4 separate regions of the Homo sapiens genome follow, and regions 1, 2 and 4 are each linked to region 3. Evidence: promoter capture Hi-C in 16 types of primary human blood cells and fetal thymus (Javierre and others, 2016). All regions are on one chromosome and are shown on one strand. The core of a region is centred on a gene start or on the middle of the fragment in contact, and the rest is flanking DNA. Distances in the headings are between cores, read along the strand shown.

Evidence for each region. The method cuts DNA at HindIII sites, captures the fragments that hold promoters and counts their contacts. A CHiCAGO score of 5 or more calls a contact.
Region 1: a fragment that was not itself captured here is called in contact with the fragment with the promoter of RLBP1 in region 3 in 2 of 17 cell types (monocytes and erythroblasts); the score reaches 5.4 in monocytes.
Region 2: a contact is called between a fragment that was not itself captured here and the fragment with the promoter of RLBP1 in region 3, in 1 of 17 cell types (neutrophils). The highest score is 5.6, in neutrophils.
Region 4: a contact is called between a fragment that was not itself captured here and the fragment with the promoter of RLBP1 in region 3, in 2 of 17 cell types (neutrophils and M1 macrophages). The highest score is 8.4, in neutrophils.

Annotation. Positions count from the first base shown.
Region 1 is chr15:89,056,137-89,059,545 of GRCh38, forward strand. All of the region lies in intron 1 of CARMAL (coronary artery disease region linked MFGE8 regulatory lncRNA), which reads left to right. It also overlaps a transcript of ABHD2 not described here. Among named protein-coding and RNA genes, the nearest start is that of CARMAL, 17 kb to the left of the region's middle. RefSeq lists an enhancer at 3,199-3,409. The HindIII fragment of the contact is 778 bases long and covers 1,380-2,157 here.
Region 2 is chr15:89,017,713-89,021,207 of GRCh38, forward strand. No RefSeq gene overlaps it. Among named protein-coding and RNA genes, the nearest start is that of CARMAL, 22 kb to the right of the region's middle. The HindIII fragment of the contact is 4,802 bases long and covers 1-3,495 here.
Region 3 is chr15:89,220,109-89,223,269 of GRCh38, forward strand. RLBP1 (retinaldehyde binding protein 1) reads right to left here and starts at 1,471. Exons shown (of 9, transcript NM_000326.5): 1 at 1,427-1,471. The HindIII fragment of the contact is 10,964 bases long and covers 1-3,161 here.
Region 4 is chr15:89,038,269-89,041,749 of GRCh38, forward strand. CARMAL (coronary artery disease region linked MFGE8 regulatory lncRNA) reads left to right here and starts at 2,730. Exons shown (of 4, transcript NR_183882.1): 1 at 2,730-3,032. It also overlaps a transcript of ABHD2 not described here. The HindIII fragment of the contact is 2,351 bases long and covers 366-2,716 here.

The DNA.
Region 1 (3,409 bases), core at 519-3,018, 160 kb before region 3:
GCTGCCACGCCTAGCCTGATTTTTGCTTTTAATTAAAATTTTGTAAATGGAGGTGGGAATCCCTCTACGAATTTTTAATTTGTAACTATTCGTATCTTCCTAGGGAAAATAATAGGAAAAAAACTCACAAAACTGTTAATATTGCTCACCTCAGGAGATGGCATTGGAGATATTTGCTTAGTTACAAGAATATGTATGGATTTTGCAACTTGAATGACACAGTAAGAAAGAACACCATGCCCCAGTGCAGGATTGTGGCAGGAATTTGAATCTTTAATTCCTTCAGGCACCGGGCACAGATCGAGACCATCCTGGCTAACACGGTGAAACCCCGTCTCTACTAAAAATACAAAAAAATTAGCCAGGCATGGTGGCAGGTGCCTGTGGTCCCAGCTACTCAGGAGGCTGAGGCAGGAGAATGACGTGAACCCGGGAGGTGGAATTTGCAGTGAGCCGAGTTCGCACCACTGCACTCCAGCCTGGGCGACAGAGCAAGACTCCATCTCAAAAAAATAAAATAAAAAAATAAAATTCCTTCAGGGTGCTTGCAAAAGATAGAACAGTGCAATGAAAAAAATCAGACCCAGCAGCACTACTTATTACAACATGACCTTGAGTGAGTCATTCACCTCACTGGGCCTCAGTTTTCTTGTCTGTAAAATGGGACAATAGCAATCTCTACCTGTCAGAGTTTGTGTGCAGGCAGTCAGGAAATATAGTCAGTAGGCATTAAATTTTTTTCACACTGTTAATCCAGTTTATAAGTGATACCTTTTTTTTTTTTTTTTTTTTTTGAGATGGAGTTTTGCGCTTGTTGCCCAAGCTGGAGTGCAATGGCGCCATCTCGGCTCACTGCAATCTCCGCCTCCCGGGTTCAAGCGATTCTCCTGCCTCAGCCTCCTGAGTAGCTGGGATTACAGGCACACGCCACCACGCCCGGCTAATTTTTTGTATTTTTAGTAGAAATGGGGTTTCACCGTGTTAGCAGGCTGGTCTTGAACTCCTGACCTCAGGTGATCCGCCTGCGTCAGCCTCCCAAAGTGCTGGGATTACAAGCATGAGCCACTGCGCTAGGCCAGCGTGATACCATTTTTAAAAGTGTTAAGTGAAAAGGGTAAAGGATCTATTGAAGCCCCTTTGTAAGCATGTGAGTTCTGCTTGAGAAGCCACCCCCGGGTTAGCTCTTCTAAGCTGCTCATAGCTAATTCCCTTCCTTCATCTCCACTTCCCTTTGGGGTTTGGCGCAGTGATGATGGGGTTTCTGAAGATGAGGTAGGGCAGGGGTTACACAGTGACCACTGGGAAGTTGGGGACTGGCCGCCTCTGGAACTCCAAGGATTGATTTTCATGGTTAGCAAACAGCTGAGAGTTCTTTGGGAAGCTTCAATGGTGAAAATGCTATTTTTGGTAAGAGGGTAAGAATACAGCCCCTTCTTGTTTAGCCATGGTCGTGGAATCACGGTGGGGGCGTGCCTGGTGCATGGGCTCCTGAGAGGCAGGCCCCGTTGGGCTCACCCCCATTCCTGCTGCCATTCCCTCCATGGCCTCAGGGTGGCGCTGCTCCCTCTCCAACTGGGGCCATCTATTGCCACCATGCGGCTTCCCAGTGAAACCCGCTATTAATAAGAAGGAATGAAAAAAAAAAAAGAAAGAAACAAACCTGCCAGAACTTTCCAATCACACTGTCCTAAAAGCTGAGGACTAAGAAAACGAAGATAGATTCAGGGGACACCGTGAGTCAAAACTTTAGTTTGCCAGGTCTGACTTCTTTCCTGCAGCTCTTCGCCCTCTACCCAGTCCATCAGGGACCCCAGGACTAGGACTCCCTAGCTCCCCACTTACAAATTAAGCCCACCAACATTTGTGGGGCGCCAGGCAAGAGAACGAATGGAAGCTCACATACTCTATGTCTGCATATTTTCAAGTTGTTCAGTCAAGCTGATAAACCCTTAAATGAAGTATGCTCCATCCTTCCGCCTTGAGGTAGATACCTTCATAACCACCTAAAAGACCAGGTTGACTTTTAGGATTTTCAGCCTCCTTGGAGATCCATTCCCCTGGCTCTCCACTTCTGGCCCCAGGTCCACCCACCCACGCTCATCCTTTCAGATCGTGAGGAGCCTCACATACGTGTGGATACTCCAGCTCACACATCCAAGCTTCCTCCACACCCACACCCCTTACAACCCTGAAAACAGCTACCCCTTGGCCACTCCTAGTACCTAGCATGTGAACACAGGTAGTGAGGTCCACTCTTGGGAAGAGAGACCTAGAGAAAATGAAGATGCCCCGCAGGCACAGAAGAGGGCTTGCTGTAATTTGGACAGAAACTCTGGGGTCCTGGTACACGGAGCCTAGTCTTGGGTGGGTGTATGGACTCCCTTTGTAGAAAGGAACATGGCCCGAGGAGGTGCACAGCAGGAGCTTCTCCTGCTCTGGGCCCAGGGGATGGGGACAAGGAGAGATGACATCCTTAACTCCCTCCATCCCTCAGGAGTGCCCCTGGACATCGAGACTCCTGGAAATCTGGGTTGTGACAGGCCAAGTCCCTTCTTAATTCCTCTTTCCTGCTGTGGAGCCCCCTCATGTCCAATGATTGGCAGCAGGAAAGACCTCACTCTTCAGACAAGACCATAGTATCTGCCCTTGAAGCCTTTCTCTTTCAGCCCTCAACAATATCTCAATAAAAACAGCAATCCAACGTTGGACAGAAGCCTGCAGTAATGGGTGGTGGCGCAGAAGCCATCCTTTCAAGGGCACAGAGTGCCATTTCTCTCTCAAGGGATGGATAATTCCTGCCTTAATGCAACCTTCATCTGCCTAGTCACCAGCTGATGGGAAAGCAGCTCCAGCGAAAGATAAGGGCTCTTTGCCTGAAATGAAAAATTCATGAAGGAAGACTAGGAATGGGGCACGCAGAGAGCTGCCAAGTTGCTGTGCTCTGAGGACCTGACAAGAAGCTCAAAAAGCCAAATGGAAATTTTCTCTCCTCTCCAGCATCTCCCATCATGCCCTCTTCCATGTTTGGGGCTCTCTTCTCTGCTGTACCTGGTCACAGCTCTGCAGTCTCACCAATGCCCATATGCCAGGGGATCCAGGAAGAGGGGTACATCTGCCCACCCAGGCGAGCCACTTGACACCCACTCACATCCTCACAAAATGTTCGCTGTGGCTAGACAAGCTGGCATGGTTCTGACCACCTACCTGCCTAGACCAGACCTGGAGGAAATCCAAACTGGCTATTTATTTGTCCCTGGGAGACGCCTACAGATTACTTCCTGTTCCAATTTTCTGACCCACAGATCTGATCAAAATTCGTTAGGTTGATCATTGGTCACAACTCATAACTTGGGAAGGCAGCCCTGAATTTCTTGTCACAATGTTGGGCAGACAGTGGTATGGATGAAAT
Region 2 (3,495 bases), core at 971-3,470, 200 kb before region 3:
TGCGGCCTCCGCCCAACCTTGAGTTTCCTGCTCCACCGCGCCCTCTCGTGGTTAACTGGACTCACGGCTTTCTCGCCCCCAACCCCAACCACCTAAATTGCGGTTCTCAACCTTGGCTGAGCGTGGGAATCACCCGGGGACCTGCGAAACACCGATGCCTGGGTACCGGACTCTATCCGCGCCTCCCCCTGCGAGAGATTCTGACTTAATTGGCCTGATGCAATCCGGGCGTCCCCTGGGGATCACAGTGTGCAGTCAAGGCTGGGAAACACTGACCCACCTCTGCTCTGCCAGGGATCCTGCGTTTGGCTGACGACATTTCTCTTGTCAGAGCCCACCGGACTCTGCTTTCCGGATATAAAGGATCCTTTTGCAAGTCTAAACACCTCAATGTCGGCATCACACCCTCAAGCATCCACCCTCTACTCCTGAAATACTCATGATTAATATGTGCTTTTAATTTCTATTGCTGGAGAAAATGTTTCTGAAAAATTGCACTTACATAAATAGATAAGGCATATTATTTGTATTATCTGCTGACAACATCCGTGATGTGTGCATGTGTGTGCTGCGTATGCACAGAGCTTCCTCACTATAATTTCAGGAGCTTCTCAGGGCCTTAGGTCAGAGATCCGCTAGCCGTGCCAGGGCACTCTGGCCCTAATGTTAAAAATAGACCATGGCTTTAGCCACTCCTGTCAGTATCTTGTCTCACTGCCCAGTGCTCCATTCATCAGGAGAAATTCCTGAGCTGCTGCCCAGCCAGTCAGCCAGGCCCAACTGAAATTCCCAGGGGGCCTGTGAGGGGGGTCACACGTACTCTTAGCTTCTAGGCTGGACCTCAGGACTCCTAGCAGAAGGATATCCACTGTGGCCCTGCGACCTTGTCAATCGTTTGATTCACAGCCTCTCAGTGACACTGGCACTCAATGAGATGGGCTCCTTTCATGACACGGTCACCACCATCATCACAATCTCCAGCATTTTTGGGTTCCTACTATGTGTACAGCAGTTTTCAGGAACATTTATTATTTATTTATTGAGACAAGAGTTTCCCTCTGTCACCCAGGCTGGAGTGCAGTGACATGATCTCAGCTCACTGCAACCTCAGCCTCCTGGGCTCAAACGATTCTTGTACCTCAGCCTCCCAAGTAGTTGGGATTACAGGCACTCACCACCACACTAGCTAATTTTTGTATTTTTAGTAGAGATGGGGTTTCGCCATGTTGGCCAGACTGGTCTTGAACTCCTGACCTGAAGTGATTTGCCCACCTCGGTCTCTCAAAGTGCTGGGATTACAGGTGTAAGCCTCCATGCCTGGCCTATTTTAAAGGAACTTATAAACATTAGAAAATAGTGTCTTTGTCATCCAAAAATGTATAGTCCAGTGGGAGAGAGGGTAATAACATGGGGACATGTGAGAAAATAAAGTTCTGTTTAATTCCCTCAGACCCAATTGAGCACTGGTGTAAGAGTTGTGTAAGATATTTTAAAGATGCCTTAAAAGAGGTTAGAATCTGAGGACAATGAGAATGAGGACAAGAAACGCGAGGCAGTATGAAAATATCAGGGTCAACAATGCAAAGCAGGGGAAGGTAGTGCCTCTGCTAATCAGGACTCATTCTGCTGCTAATGTCAGTTCATCAACTAAAATTCACTTAAACAACAATAACAAAAAGGAATTTATTGATTCACTGAGCCAAAGGATAGGAAGAATGTGCTGAGCTTCAGTGACAGTGGAATCCGGGACTGAATGCCAGCAAGAATTTCTCTCCCCTTTCCCATAACCCCCACCCTTCCCCTTCCTACTTCACCCACTTTCCCCAAACTCTGGGCTTCCCCCTCTCTGCAGCCTTTCTTCTCTTCCACACAGAAGGGCTTTCTATGCACACCAGGAAATATGGCCCCAGGCAGTTCAAGATTCATAACCTTGGTCCTCTACCAAAAAGGAAAAGAAACCTTCCCTCCCAGTTCCGTTTAAAAGAAGAACAAACCAAACAAACCAACAGAAAAGGACTTGAAGTACCCACTCTTCTGGGCAGAGTGAGATGGGGTACTTTCATTGGTCTCCCATCCAGAGCCAAACAGTAGGCGTGGGGGAGAAATGTCCCCTGAAAGAAGGGGATGATGGTTGTAGCAGACAAAACAAAGTCAGCCAGTACATGACATGGGATTGCTTTTCTGAAATGAAGGGCCACCGTTTTTGTTTTGTTTGGTTTGGGGGGGGTTGTTTGTTTTTGTTTGTTTGTTTGTTTGTTTTGATATGGAGTCTCGCTCTTGTTACCCAGGCTGGAGTGCAATGGCGTGATCTTGGCTCAATGCAACCTCCGCTTCCCGGGTTCAAGTGATTCTCCTGCCTTAGCTTCCTGGGTAGCTGGGATTACAGGCGCCCACCACCGTGCCCGGCTAATTTTTGTATTCTTAGTAGAGACGGGGTTTCACCATGTTGACCAGACTGGTATGGAACTCCTGACCTCAAGTGATCTGCCCACCTCGGCCTCCCAAAGTGCTAGGATTACAGGCGTGAGCCACTGTACCTGGCCCCGGGGCCACTGTTTTTAACCAATTGTCAAAGGGATCCCTAACCCAAAGATAGTCTTCCAAGGGACCTCAGTGACCAACCAGTTCAACTCCTCCATTTTACAGAAGAGAACACTGAGCTACAGAGAATTTAGGTGATTTGCCTAAGATGGCACAACTATGATGGGATTCTGCATTTGACTGGATGTAAGTGGGGGAAGAGGTATGTGAGAAGAAAGAGTCAAAACCTGGTCTGAGGCCAGGCGCAGTGGCTCACTCCTGTAATCCCAGCACTTTGGGAGGCTGAGGTGGGCGGATCTCCTGAGGTCGGGAGTTCGAGGCCAGACTAACCAACATGGAGAAACCCCATCTCTACTAAAAATACAAAATTAGCTGGGTGTGGTGGTGCATGCCTGTAATCCCAGCTACTCAGGAGGCTGAGGCAGGATAATCACTTGAACCCGGGAGTTGGAGGTTGCGATGAGCCAAGATTGTGCCATTGCACTCCAGCCTGGGCAATGAGAATGAAACTCCATCTCAAAAAACAAACAAACAAGCAAACCAAAAACCTGGTCTGTCAGAGTAAAGACAAATTATTTTTCATTTTTTATTTTATTGAGACAGGGTCTTGCTCTGTCACCCAGGCTGGAGTGCAGTGGCACAACCAAGGCTTACCACAGCCTTTACTTCTTGGGCTCAAGGAATCCTTCCACCTCATCTTCCTGAGTGGATGGGACTAGTAGCTGCCACCTCAGCTTCCTGAGTAGCTGCCACCACACCTGGCTAATTTTTGTATTTTTCATAAAGACTAGATTTTGCCATGTTGCTCAGGCTGGTCTCGAACTCCTGGGCTCAAGTGATCCTCCTGCCTTAGCCTCCCAATGTGCTGGGACTACAGGTATGAGCCACCATACTGGGCCAAGACAAATATTTTTTAAACGATAGAGTCCCATAGAAAGAGAATATAGGGGGGAA
Region 3 (3,161 bases), core at 221-2,720:
TGGTAAGTGACAGAGTTGGGACTTGAACCTATGCCTGCCTGACACCAAGTCTTTTTTTGACACCTAGAGCCAAGACATCTGAAGACAAACTCCCTAGGAGAGCTGGCGTCATAGAAACCTTAAAGGTTAGGGAGACCTGGGTTTGAATCAGGCTTTGTCAGTTATGACTTGTGTGACCCTAGCAAGTTATTTAACCTTTCTGGGTCTCAGTTTCCTCATCTGCAAACTGAGGATAATAACAGTACCTACCAAAAAGAACTGTCGTGAAAACCATATAATTTCTGCAATGCTCCTGGCACAGTGTCCTGTTCTAAAGCATAGTTCCCCTTCTCTTTCTTAGCTCCATATTGATTATTACCCTAACTTGCACAAAGAGACTTGGAGGACCCCCATAGAGTATCGGAGGGTCCCCCATTTCCTGCTCTTTCCACTCCACACCCCCAGCAAGCACAGGGAAGTTCTGGGGGCCATAATCCACCCACAGGAACCAAATCTAAGCCACCTTTCTGGCTGGTAGACATCCAGGTATGTGGGCACAGAGGTAGACAGGCTGAAATGCTGCTGTGCTATCAGTTGGGTTTTGCTGGAACAGGAATGGAAATGGAGAGGCTGACAGAACTGCCCTGGGGAGCCCAGGCAAGAGGGACAGTGGCTGGACACCCCCAGCCAGTTGTGCAGACCATCAGAACAAGATCCTAGATTTTAGGAATACAGGGTTCAAGTCCGTGCGGCAACTCTTTTCTAAATATGCCCAAGCCATTAACTTTGAGTTTTAAAAATACTGATTTACAAGCTGTACACAATGAAAAAATGCCTATCCCTCACACCATGCTGATGCTGTTCCCTGCCATCTCAGATTACCAATTAAATACAGAATGCCCAGTTAAATGTGAACTTTTTTTTTTTTTTTTTTTTTGAGATGGAGTTTTGTTCTTGTCGCCCAGGCTAGAGTGCAATGGTGCGATCTCAGCTCACTGCAACCTCTGCCTCCCAGGTTCAAGCAATTCTCCTGCCTTAGCCTCCTGAGTAGCTGGAACTACAGGTGCCCACCAGCACGCCTGGCTAATTTTTGGTATTTTTAGTGGAGATGGGGTTTCACCATGTTGGCCAGGCTGGTCTCGAACTCCTGACCTCAGGTGATCTGCCTGCCTCGGCCTCCCAAAGTGCTGGGATTACAGGCGTGAGCCTAAATGTGAACTTTTTTAATACTAAAAAAGTATTTGCTGTTCATCTGAAATTCACATTTAACTGGGTGTCCTGTATTTTTATTTGCTAAATCTGCCATCAAATTGGTCTGGCTCAACCTGGAGAATGGCCAGGTGGTTTCAGTTTTACAGGCATCTTGGGACGTGGTCTCCCTGCTCCCCTGAGTCCTCACCCCAGTCCTGGGCTCCCTGGCCCAGGCAAGCCCCAGGTATTGACTTACCTGCCAGGTCGGCAGCTCCTCCTTGGGGCTACCTGGTACCTGAATGTCCTGGAGCTCTAGAGGTTCCCTCCGCTGGAGGCGTGGTCCGGTCAGCAGGTTGGGATTAGTGTGTCATAAGGAACTTCTCACCGCCCACAGTTTCCGTTAAATCGGGCTCACAGGAGGCCCTCAGTGGGGCAAAGGAAGACCCAGAGAGAAAGGGGAGAGGGGAGAGGCCTGGGCCTGGCTGGAGGCGCATCAAAGCCCTCCTTTGTGTGCTCCTGCTCTGGAGTTCCTGCTCGGCCATGTGGAAGCCCGGCTGTGGGGCTGGGATCTGGGCCAGTCCCATTCCCTCTTTTCTCTGCCCTCTTTCTCCTCAAGATCCCGGGGTGGGGTTGCTGAGAGAGCACCCCCCCCCCCCCACCACCACCACCAGGGTAATAAGAGGTGAAGGGAAATCGTAAATATGACTACATCTACAGTGGCAGCTCTGGCAAATCCAGGCCTATTGCCCACCCCTCCCCCAGCCAGCAGGACCTGGCATGGTAGTTTTCACCTCTGCAGTGAGTGGGGTCAGTTGAGAAATGTGGCTGGTTAAGGCCAAGCAGGGAGAGGACAAGACAGGCTGAGCCTCCTTCTGGGCAGTGTGGTGCAGTGGCATGCCCTGGAACCAGACTGCCCGCCTGTAAAGCCTCGCTCGAGCATCTTCTGGCCGGGAAACATGACTTCAAAACTCATCGGCTCAGTTTCCTCCTCTAAGAAGTGTAGAAAACTAGAGGACCAGGCTCATGACTTTAGTGCGGATGAAATGGCAGTAAAGTGCTTAGTTCAGGGGTTTAGCTGCCTGACAATAAGTCCTCTGGAAAGGTCAGTTACTCCAAATACAGTATCAATAGGTGCCTAACTGGAGGGAACTTATTATTCAATCCTTTGTACAGGAAGAAACCCCTCTGCAGCCTCTCAACAGGTAACTTCCCAGCCTCTGTTTTGCTATTCCACTGGATGAGGAGGAGGTAATTCCTGTAGAACATTTTCTGTCTAGGATTCCAAGGGCGGGAAGCTCCCTGTTTCCATTACTGGGGAGCTCTCCTTGTTTAAAACCTCATTGTTGGTTTGAGCCCCAAGCAGCTTCCTATAATGACCACCCTTGGTCCTGGTTTTGCCTCCTAGAGGTGCCCAGGAGAAGGTCAAGCTCCCCTGCACAGGTCGCTCTCCAGAATCCAACCCCAGAAGTGCTTTTTTATTTTCCCTGGACATAGTTCTTGCTTTTCCACCCATTCCTACTTTGGCAGGTTTGGGATTTCTTCCCACCACCCCATCTCCTGCCGACCCCTTCCTCCAGAGCAGGCTGCAATGCCTGGTGCTTAGATCTTGGGGTGCATTTGAGTCACCTTGAGCTCTTTGTTTCCAAAAGCCCTTTCCCTGGGCTCCTACTCTGGCTGCTGTCTGGGTCTTGGGCTGTTTCTGTCCCAAGTCCTCTGTGGAGCTGGGGATCCTTCATTTATGTCATTCTTCTTCCTGGTGGTCTAGTCCTATGCTGTCTTATATAGTAGCCGCTAGCCCCATGTAGCTTTTCAGCATTCGAAATGGGGTAATGCTAGAGATTGGGTCTCACTATAAAAAAAATTTTTATAAATAGGGTAATACGACCCAAGAACTAAATTTTTGTGGGAGTCTGGCAGGGGACAGAGTCTCGCTCTGTCACCCAGGCGGGAGTGCAGTGGTGCGATCTCAGCTTATTGCAACCTCCGCCTCC
Region 4 (3,481 bases), core at 291-2,790, 180 kb before region 3:
CACCCAGGCTGTCCTGGCCTGTTTCCCTTCCAGCTTCCCCGCAGAAGAGTGATTCTGCTCTGCAGGGTGACAGTGGCGGCCAGAGGAGGTGTGTCATCGGAAAGAAAAAAGTCTGCTTGATTGTCACAGGGACCGTTCACTTAACACGTATTTCTCGAGTGTGTGAGCATCTAGTCAATGCTGCTAGATGCCAGAGAGGCAAAGATGACTGCACTTGGTCCTAGCCCCTTGGAGCACCTTGTCTGGCACTGGCCCCACTGCTGCAGCCCTGGCTGAGGTCAGCAGGCTGCTCTCCCTCAAGTCAGTGGCCACCAGAGCCTTACCTGCCAGCCCTGTCTGCCACCATGGCTGCTGGGCCTCCCTCAAGCTTATTTTTGATGTCTATATTGTGGGTCAAATTATAAGAGGCTTTAAAAGGATGAGTGTAAATGGAGGTGTCTGTCCCCTAATGGGTGCCCAGAGGAATTTTTCCATGTCAGGTAAGGATACCTTTTTTTCTGAGGCAGGGTCTCACTCTGTCTCCCAGGCTGGAGTGCAAAGGGCGATCACAGCTCACTGCAGCCTCGACCTCCCAGGCTCAAGCAATCCTCCCACCTTTGCTTCCTGAGTAGCTGGGACTACAGGTGCTTGCCATCACAGCCAGCTAATTTTTTTTTTTTTTTTTTGTATGTTTTTGTAGAGATGGGATTTCACCATGTTGCCCAGGCTGGTCTTAAACTCAGCTCAAGCTATCTGGCCCCCTCTGCCTCCCAAAGTGCTGGGATTACAGGCGTGAGCCACTGCGCCTGCCCACCCGCCCCCCACCCCCCGACTTCTTTCTTTTTAAACATTTTTGTAAACTTCTCTCTTTTTAAACATGCACACTCACTCCACCCAAGCCTCTGAAGACAGAATTCTTGACCCTATTGCACTTACGATCTAATAGAAGAGACACAGATATAATATATTATGGTTTGATATGTTCACTGCTAGAAGTTTATGCCAAGTGCTGCTAGAACATAAATAATGGAGCAGTTCATCTTTCCTGGGGATAGGAGCCAGAGCCACAGTGAGCGCTGTTGACTGGGGTCTTAAAATTAAGCTGCATATGCCAAGCAGGGAAAGCGGGAAAGAGCATTGCCAGCAAAGGGAGCAGTATGATCAAAATTCCAAAGCAGTGCGTGCCAAAGGGCGTGTCATGAGCTGGAAAAGGTATGGTAGCACTGGTCAAGATTGCAATTTCAGTGTTCTTTTTTTTTTTTTAATTGAGACAGAGTCTCACTCTGTCACCCAGGCTGGAGTGCAGTGGCGCGATCTCAGCTCGCTGCAACTTCCACCTCCTGGGTTCAAGCAGTTTTCCTGCCTCAGCCTCCGGAGTAGCTGGGATTACAGGCACCCGCCACCACACCCAGCTGATTTTTGTATTTTTAGTAGAGACGGGGTTTCACCGTGTTGGCCAGGCTGGTCTCGAACTCCTGACCTCAAGTGATCCTCTCATCTTGGCCTCCAAAAGTGCTGGGATTACAGGCATGAGTCATGGCACCCGGCCAGTTTCAGGGTTTGTTTGAAATGATCACTTAATGAGTAACTGTCTCCCCTACTAGACTGTAAACTCTATGAGGGCCGGGGCTGGGTCTGTGTTCAACCACACTATGCCCCAGTGCTGAGCATGTCATGGCATTCAAATAAATATCCGTTGGATGGATGAATGGATGGAAGAAAGGAGGGATGAAATTTTTTAATTAAGAGATGTGTGCCAATTTTGGCAAATTTGTCAAAAATTTTGAAGAAAGTTTTTCTCAGTGAATATGAATATATTCCACTTGTGAATCTATTCACAGACTATGGGCTTGCTGGAACCTAAGAGTCATCGAGTAGTTTAGACTTCTTATCAATAGATTTTTATTTATATTCATAAGAGTATATTCTTGAATATATTTACTAATGCATTCATTAACAGTATATATTCGTATTCATTGAAAACATTAAAGAAAAAATTCTTTAGAATGGACAAATCAGAATATTTCACTTTTTTTTTTTTTTTTTTTTTGAGGCAGAGTCTGGCTCTGTTGCCGGGCTGGAGTGCAGTGGCACGATCTTGGCTCACTACAACCTCTGCCTCCTGGATTCAAGCGATTCTCCTGCCTCAGCCTCCCAAGAAGCTGGGACTACAGGTGCGTGCCACCACACCCAGATAATTTTTGTATTTTTAGGAGAGGCGGGGTTTCACCATGTTGGTCAGGGTGGTCTTGATCTCTTGACCTTGTGATCCGCCCGCCTTGGCCTCCCAAAGTGTTGGGATTACAGGCGTGAGACACAGTGCCCAGCCTAGAATATTTCATAAATGTAGCAAATTGGCTTTAGGGAACTTTTTCTGCTTCCAGCATTCAGCAGCTATTTGAAGGGTTTTGGAAGCAAAGGAATGGAGGGAGACAGGACGGCACCCTGAGGGAGACGCAGGGCTGAACGGAGCTGTTCGGGGATAGCTGTGGCTTGAGTGGGTCTGTTGGCTGAAAGGAGGGATTCGTTGAAGAAGGAGCAATGGACGAGGTGAGAGAGAGGATACTGGATGGAACCAGGTTTCAGAGGAGGCTGATGGGAGAATGTGAGGAGCACCAAAGCGAGCCTTAGGAAAAAGAAGTTCAGACAGACAGACACTTCGGTAAACCACAGCTCCCAGTATTCACCACTGTGTGTAGTCTCCTCCCACACTGACTCTGGGCTTGGTCAGCTGACAAGCTTTGGCCAATAGGGCTCTAGCAAGAAGATGCCAGCAGAGGCTTGAAAAGTGCCTACCCCTGGCCTGGGATGCTTCCTCCTGGGATGCTCCCACTTGGAACCCAACTATTGTGCTGCAGAAGTTTAACTTAACTGTGTAAGGAGGCCAAGAGGAGGCCCTGGCTGCCAGCCAGCATCAACTTCCAGTGACGTGAGTGTGCCATTCTGGAACTGGATCCTGCAGCCTCGGTGGAGCAGCCTCAGCTGATGCCATGTGGAACAGAGATGAACTGCCGCTGCCGAGCTCTGCCCACGTTGCAGAATCATGAGCAAATGTGAGTTTTGTGGTTTTAAGCCACGAAGTTTAGAGGTGGTTTGCAATAGAATGGAGGGGACTGCTTTTCTTCTGAGTTTCGGATTGAATTCTGCTTTACTATAACTTATTTATTATATATTTGTAACAATTCTGTCTCCACCCATCAGTATTCACCCGCCTAAGGGCACAGAGGCACCAGGACTCTGGGAACCTTCCTTGATGTCTGGATCTACTGCAGTGACTCTTAGTGCAGCAGTTAAAAGCCAGACTGTCCTAGTGTGAATCCGGCCTTGGCTATTCATTGGCTGGAAGACCTGAGCCAAGCCTGTGCCTCTGTCCGGGCATCTGGGTAGATGTCCTAGGAGTCCACTAAGAAGAAAACTGAGGCCAGTGAGAGGCAGAGTTGAGGCAAGGCGCAACTCTATTCCCCTGCTGGGGAAAGCAGCTCTGCCCCTCGGTCTGCCCTGC